Linked DNA regions of Homo sapiens: region 2 is linked to region 1. Evidence: promoter capture Hi-C in 16 types of primary human blood cells and fetal thymus (Javierre and others, 2016). All regions are on one chromosome and are shown on one strand. Each heading gives the region's core, a stretch centred on a gene start or on the middle of the fragment in contact. The rest is flanking DNA. Distances are from core to core; before and after follow the strand shown.

What was found. The method cuts DNA at HindIII sites, captures the fragments that hold promoters and counts their contacts. A CHiCAGO score of 5 or more calls a contact.
Region 2: a contact is called between a fragment that was not itself captured here and the fragment with the promoter of LINC01888 in region 1, in 1 of 17 cell types (naive CD4 T cells). The highest score is 5.4, in naive CD4 T cells.

The regions. Positions count from the first base shown.
Region 1 is chr2:68,829,948-68,833,787 of GRCh38, forward strand. LINC01888 (long intergenic non-protein coding RNA 1888) reads left to right here and starts at 2,061. Exons shown (of 2, transcript NR_183895.1): 1 at 2,061-2,205. LINC01890 (long intergenic non-protein coding RNA 1890) reads right to left here. Exons shown (of 4, transcript NR_183884.1): 2 at 2,885-3,103; 3 at 1,413-1,558. The HindIII fragment of the contact is 9,437 bases long and covers 1-3,185 here.
Region 2 is chr2:68,883,582-68,887,873 of GRCh38, forward strand. No RefSeq gene overlaps it. Among named protein-coding and RNA genes, the nearest start is that of BMP10, 14 kb to the left of the region's middle. The HindIII fragment of the contact is 3,782 bases long and covers 1-3,778 here.

The DNA of each region.
Region 1 (3,840 bases), core at 811-3,310:
GGGTTCTTTCCCCCAAACTGCAACCATGGTGTGAACCCCATTGAACATCCGTTGCTGAGTGCTTCCAGAATATAGAGCTCTCCTCAGCTCATGATCACAACCAAGACCCACCTAATATGATGCCAGTTTTTCACCTACTGTGTATTCCCAATACTATTTTAAAACACTGGTTCTCAGTCTTGGTGGCACAAGAGAATTACCTTAGGAACTGTAAACAAAAATTCTGATGCTCAGATCTTACTTCATATCAATTGAATCAGAATCTTTCGGGATGGGGCCTAAGAATTGGTAGTTAAAAGAAAAATTCCCAGTTGATTCCAATATACAATCAGGATGGTTAAATAGTTTTAAAACTGCTAAGTTTGGCTTTAGTCATGACTAATGGTAATATTAATTCTACCTGCTCCCCTTTCCCATCTCCAGTTAACACAGCTACATTCTCTGATTTACAGGCTGATTTTTCATGTGTTTATTCATCTAGGATAAGACATGATTAAGTGATACAGAATGGATTTATGTTATATGCCCATTATGCAGATGGTGAAAAGTGAGCCCAAAATTTTTTTAAAAAATGAGTATAACAGTAGCTTAGTATGAACAAATCCAAGGATTTTGAGAATTCCTAAATATATGGGGACACTGTTTACTTGCTTTAAGGATTGACTCTAAACATAGGCAAAGAAGATAAGCACTTGAGGGCCTGATTTAAAGAGTCCCGAGAATAGCTCTGATGAAAATCATCTCTTTTTCAGACTCATGTTAGATTGAGAAATCCCTACCAGTAGCCTTTGGAATATTAACCACAAACGTGATATTTCTGGGAGACTCCATGAAGCCTCCATTAATCGTTAGTATCATCTTTATATTAGTTATCTGCTTCCCAGCAGAAAGCTGTGTAATGAAGGAACGAGAGCCTGGCCAGATAAGCAGTGCTGTGGGTGGAGGAACAGATCAAGAGTATGGATGTTGGCCAGGCACAGTGGCTCACGCCTGTAATCCCAGCACTTTGGGAGGCCGAGGCGGGCAGATCACGAGGTCAGGAGTTCGACGCCAGTCTGGCCAACATAGTGAAACCCTGTCTCTACCAAAAATACAAAAAATTAGCCGGGTATGGTGGTGTGCGCCTGTAATCCCAGCTACTCTGGAGGCTGAGGCAGGAGAATCACGTGAACCTGAGAGGCGGAGGTTGCAGTGAGCCGAGATCTCGCCATTGCACTCCAACCTGGGTGACAGTGGGAGACTCTATCTCAAAAAAAAAAAAAAAGTATGGATGTTACCTAGGAGTATTGCAGTGTGGGCCCCTGGCTGCCTTAGGTGGGGTGAGGGTGCAAAAATCAGGCCTTAAAAAGGGAAACGGGGACTCATCATCAGGGTGGACGGAGAAATGGTTTGCCCCCACATACACCTGATACCTGCTCAAAGTTGGCACTTGTCCTCCTTCCTTCTCTCTGTTCTCCCTTATTGATGTCCTTTCAGTCCTGCTGAGGCCAGCCCATGCTAAACATCACCCTGGTTCTTGGGTCTTTGTTCAGCATCAGTAGCAATATCATGACAATAACTACCAATAATAAGCAACAAATACCATTTTAATACTTTCTGGTGAGCACTGTATCCATGTCATTTCCTTTAAATCTCAAATCAACTCTTTTCTGATTGCAATCAAACCTGTTTTACTGAGGTCTCAATGTGGCTTAGCTAGGAACTGAAGCGTATATACAGTCTACACAAGGCTACATTATCCTTGCCCTCACATAGGGAGGAAGTACAACATAGAAAATGACCCCTTGGCAGAGATGGACTAAAGCAAAATCTGCAAAGACTTTTTCTTTAAAAGGCTGGCAGGGATTCTGGAAAGAACCACTAACTGCCTTGTCTGACTCAGCATCAAGATGGAAAAATATACAGAGGCTGTTGCCTTCCCCACAGCCTAAGTCAAATCCACCTGCTTGCTCTGAGGCTGTCTGGGAGGCCACACATCACCATGCCCTTTCCTGGAGTCAATTCTTGGTCCCATGTCATTAGCCCCACCCTCGAAAGAACTCTGGGAATGGGGTTGCCTTGGAGTCCCCGGTTCCGTGTGGCTAAAGAGTGAGCCTCTCATATCTCCATGCTGAATTTCCTCACTCATTCACAACCCTCCTTTCCATTTCAAGAAATCTTTCTGTTCCCACAAGCCTGGGAGGGCCTTTGAGTGGGGCATATTGGGTAAGTTTGAAGGAGTACTGCCAGTGAGACCTTCAAAAGACTCTGTGTGAATGGGCTGGTGTTGGTGGGAGGAAACAGGGTCACAGATTCCCCTTCCCTTCCCCCTTGTAAGATGTGTCATCAGTTAAATATAGGCTCTGGCCCTGTGGACGTTTACAGGCTAAGACAGCCCGCCCTGACTGGGGCTCACAGCTTCTGAGAGGAGGACACTGGGATGTCTTCAGCCCATTTCACGTGGGCTGACTGTTTCCAAAACACTCCTGGTGGGTCAGCGAGCAGAGGAAGTGTTACCATGTGATCACTTTAGAAACACCCACCTAATGACGCACTAACACGGATTTGCCCTCTGTTTTTCACATTTGATCATTCCTGACACTTTGGCGAGGAAACAAAACCCTATTTCTCTTAGAAGTCACTCCTTCCCTGGATGTGAAAGAGGGCAGTGGTTTCCCTGTCAGTCCTCTTTTAGGGAAAGATCTGGGTGAGCACATGACCCAGCTCAGCTGGTCTGGGGCTGGACACAGACACAATTGTGAGAACTTGAACTGACTCACCAGGAAGCAGGTGGTTGGGACTAGGTACTGTTGTCTATTTCAGTGCTAGATATTGCCTTTAATGAAAAACTAGCCCCAATCAGAAAAAAGCCAACACCACGCTCTGCAATACTAAGTTGACTCACCTGTTGAAATGCTGTTTATTAAGCAAAACCAGTATCCTCAGAATTCCAGCTTTCACTTTCAAGTTTCTTATGTGGGATTTCATAGTATTGGGCCCAGTGATGTGTACATCAATGGTTTGGCTTGCTGTTTATGCTACTTATTTACTCGAGCAGTCACTCTGGTGTGTTCCCATGGCTTTTCTGAAAGTATTAGAATACAGCTCCCAAAGAATGTGAGTGCTATTGGAGAAATAAAATACATGGAAATCATATGGCATCCAGCAATTGCTATGCCTATCTTGAGATAGCTGATCCCTAGATAAGCTTGGTAGTTGTGTTACCAATGATGTCTTTTCTTAGTACACATAGATTGTACTCAAGGAATAGCAAAATGTTACAACACTGATTCTTCCTCCTATAGTTAATGGCATTTTAAAAGAGTTATGCTTGACTAAAGACATAGTTTTTAAAAATGCAAATATTGAGTGCTTTCAATTCCCTAAGCATGGTGTTTTCTGCTTTACCTGCAATGTATTAATTAATTTTCACAGAAAACTATGAGGCAGCGGCTACTATCATCCCCATTTTACAGATGAGAAAACCGAGACTTAGAAAGGTTAAGTAATCTGCTCAGGCTCACAGTTCATATCCCATTTCTAAGAGACATTTTTTTTTCATTCTAATACTTTTGAAATTCAGTATGTATTTTATAGTTGATTGGTGCATTTAAAATGGAACATCTTACAAATTGATGGCTACTTAGAACTGAGAAAATATAACTGACAGAAGCAAGCATCAAAACCACGTCTACCTGATTCTAGTATTGGATCATCCAACCACAGTGGCTTGAGTGTCAAAGGAAACAACCTGTGTCTAAGTAATGACCATAAAAGTAATAACTAGTCCACATTCACATTGAAGATAATGGTTCATATTCTTCCTATTTGATACTATTTACTCTATTAGAAAAATTGTCT
Region 2 (4,292 bases), core at 638-3,137, 53 kb after region 1:
TATTATATTTTCTAAAGAAAAAGAATACACTCTAGAAGAGAAGGTCGAATCCTGAACTCCAACTAAATCCCCATTCCTTTTGCACCTGTGTTTGCCAAAGGAAAACAGTATAAAATAAGGTTAACAAAAAACTGCAGCTTGCAAAAGCAGGAGAAATCTGAGATATCCTGCAGCCTGTCCTCTCACGGATATGTGGATGTGAATGAAATGACCATACTCAACAGAGACAAAGTAAAGGAGAAAGAGTATGGGAATTTACAACCTTGATAATATGGGATTATGAATAGTTTATTTGCTATGTCTTCTCTTCCTCCTATTCTTCTTTCCTTTCTCCTTTTCTTTCTCCTTTCTTCCCTTATGTTCTTCCTTCCACCTTCCCTCCCTCCCTTTCTAAATATATGCTTGGAGTGCTTCAGGTTGTTAACTTAAAATATATGTTACATGTTTTATATGTTTAATATATATATGTATATATTATACACACACACACACACATATGGAAAGAAATCTTGGTTAGTACACTACTCTTTGAAGAGTTTATGTTCATGCCATCTGACCCTCACAGTAATTAAAAGAATAGGTGAGGCAGGCGAAAATCATCCTTTATATAAATTGGGAAACCAAAACCCCAAATGGTGAAATGATTCTTCCCAGATAACAACCTTGTCAAATACCCCTTCCAGTTGTCATGAGAATTGGGGCTGAGGTCTCACAATTAAACTAGGTCTAAGGTAAAGCGAATGAGGAAATAGGCAAGGGATTATTTTCAAGTGGAAAACATGCTGGGTAGCATCAGTACATTAAACTTAGTAGGTTTGTTAATGGTTTTAGTAATTTCAGAGACAATGCAGATTTTAATATTCTATAGAATTTTTGCTGACAGTATTTTTAAAATTAAAATCAATAGGCAAAATGAGACACCCAAACACCCAATCTCTCTCATATTAATGACACCTGACTCTTCCCTATACTACTCCACAAATATTTCTTAAGTTCCATATATACCGCCAAATAAGATGATTCCCTCATTTCCCAAATAAAAAATTCAAAAAGAGATAGATTTTGGGGGAATTTTGTATATATGCCTTTTAAGGATGTAGATGGAAGAGTCAAACGTTTACCTATTTTATTTAATAATTTTACTACATATATATTTTTAATGTTATATAAAATAAAATAAAAAACTAGAATTTTTCCACTTTCACATTTTCTTTTAAAATTGCCTTTAAACTCTCCAAGTGAATCTCAAGAGTGTCATCATTTGAGCCATTTTTTCAGTCATTTAGTTTAGCTTCTAGACTTTATCCTCTTGTAATTGTAACATAAGACTTTGTAAGACCTTAAATATAAAATGACTTCTCTTGTCTGCAGTAGAATTTTGGGGGAAATCCTTGCCTTTCTGTGGTAGAACTTTGGGGGAAATCCTTGGGTCTGTATAACAGATGAAGAGCTTTGTGCTCTGTGACTCCAGGACAGAGTATTTCCCCTTGGGTTAAACAGTCCAGTCTCTGACCGTCCCAGGGAATGGGGCTGCCTACATGCAACACTGGGAAAGCTGGAGAACTTCAGGTCAGGATGGAAAGCTGTCAATGAGATGAGGTATCAACCTGCAGATACATATTCGAGACATCGCTTTACAAGGCCAGAAACCAGGCCTTGCTTCAGTATATGGCCATGGTTCCCTTGCTAGCTGCTTTCTGGCAGTGGTGATAAGATTCCACAGAGTATCTGCTTGAAATGTTACACATTTATTCATCATCATCATTTCAGAACCTTTTTTCAGAGCAGTTGACATTTAGACCTCTGAATGAGGATTATTTTGGAATGGGCCATGTATGGGGAAAAATGTGGATGATGATGGCTGTTCCAGAGATGGCAGAAATGAAGATCTCAGATTGGAAACTAATTTTAGTCATGCTGCACATGCTCATCCCCTGTCACGCTCCTCTATATCTCGCCTCTCACCGAATGGTCTGCTCATGCTGCAGGCAGTGCCCGATAGCATTTATGGGCATCTTCATGATGCTCTTCCCAAAATGTTTTGTAAAAACTTAGCATTGCTCTTTGATACCAATGACTTATGAGAACGACTTGTATCATTCCATTGCCCAAAGAGCATCGACAGATGTCAGGATACTGAAATAGCTGCAGAAGCCGCTGCCAGCACACATTTTGCAAGCAAAATTTGCAGGGTGGCAGATTACAATGACAGAACTTTGGGGAGGAGTATTCATCACAAGATGGAATCAAGTGGTTCACACGTTGGCATTTTCCCAGTTGGTGATTGTTAGTAAATTCAGAGGCATCCTACCAGGCAGATTGCCTCTGCCCAAAGACAGCCTGAATCACCGACACAATAGCATTCTGACGGGAGTGTATTAGGGCAGGACCCACTCATATTTCATATACATGTCTTCTCCTGATGTTTCATATTGCTATTCAATTTTCATGAGTTTATATCTTATCTCCTAATTGGTTTATGATTGGAAATCTAGGACTTGTTTGGGCCACCATTGGAAAGACAGGAGCTTAATGTGGAAATGAGATTCTTGTCCAACAGGTTGAAGATTCTTGACAGGAATCAGAGATAACTGACAAAAGGGGTGGAGATGGGGCCTGCTGGGAGATGTTACTGCTTGAGGAAGATTGTTCTGTACCCTTTGGAATACAAGAAAAGATATGGAAAGGATTTCCTTGGGCTTTTATTAGCATTAACCATTCCTTTCTCTGCTTTCTTGCTCATGTATTCTGCTAACACTTATTAAGCATACACTCTGTGCTAGAAACTTGAATAAGGACTTCTTTGTAGCCCTTATTTTCTCTCCAACTCCTTTAATGTTTTATTTAATACAATATTTAAGAGCACAGTATTTTTGCATCACACAAACCTTTTGATGTATCACACAATAAGACCACTTATTGACAATATCAACTCAAACAGATGACTGAATCTTTCTGAGACTCTGTTTTCCAAAAAATGGAGATCAGAATATTTCCTACCTCATGGGATTGTTGTGAGACCAAATCAAATAGTGATTATAACATATTTTAGGTCCAATTGCTGATAAATTGTAAGCAATTGCTATCATTATTTAGTGCAAGTTTTTTTATTGGACTGAAACTTTTGGATGTCAAAAATGGTAGAATATTGATAACTTCACATGGATCAACTTAATATATGCTTTGTTTTCTAGATGGGTTTATGTTGGTTGTCATCATAAATCTTCTTTATAGTGTAAATGAGAAAAGAACCATGGTGTCCAAAGACTGGAACCAAGCCTCCACATTATAAGTTTATGAAAGCCAGGATTATACTTTGTGTAATTGAGCACTAAACTTGAGGCTCTCTACATAGAAGATGGTAAATGAATATTAGAATAATGAATTCATATGTTTGAGATATTTGGACTTTAGGAAATAGGCAACTATTTTTAATCACTTGATTTTCATTGGCCATAAAATTTCATTTCTGATACCTAAGAGCAAGTTGACACAATCACTTTAAAAACATGAATAGTAAATATTTATGAGCTGGCCTGGTTGAGTTTGGGAACTAGATCTGTCATATACAAACCATCTGACTTCAAATCAGTGATTCTTGATGAAAAACAAGGCTGTGAAAATCATAACATGACAATGGTTAAGGGTGAGGGTTTCATTTATATCTCTGCCTCTCTTCAAAAGATGAAAAGATATCTCAGATTAGAAATAAAAGGAGCTAGAAGGTACAAAGCTCTCTTTCCAGTTAGGGATGAGAGCACCATCAGAAGTGAAAGGAAGCTTGGGATCCCCATACTTCAACCCATACACTAAGCAGCATTACTACCAGGTCTGAAAACCACCCTTAATTGTAGATGTGACTCTGCTCCCTGGTTTTGGTCCAGAAAAGATAGTGACGTGATAGTCGTTTTGGTGCATGATCATTGGATGGGCTCTCTGGCAAAGTCTACTGAAAACCAAACTTGATTGCTGTAAATTTGAATGTAAAACATAAATTAGGAGAACGTTTGCAAATCTATAGAGACCAAAAGTAGATTGGAGGTTGCCAGCGGGATGCTGGAGGGGGAGGTGGGACAGGGGTTGATTGCTAAGTGGTATGAGGTTTCTTTTTGTAGTAATGAAAATGTTCTAAAATTGACTATGATGATGGTTGCACAACCCTGGAAATATACTAAAAGTCATCAAATTATACATTTTAATGGTGTGTTGTAGGGTGTGCAAATTATTTCTCAATTAAGATTTTAAAAATAACAGAAGAAAAAATTCATTTTGAAAACCTTTAATCCTTCCAT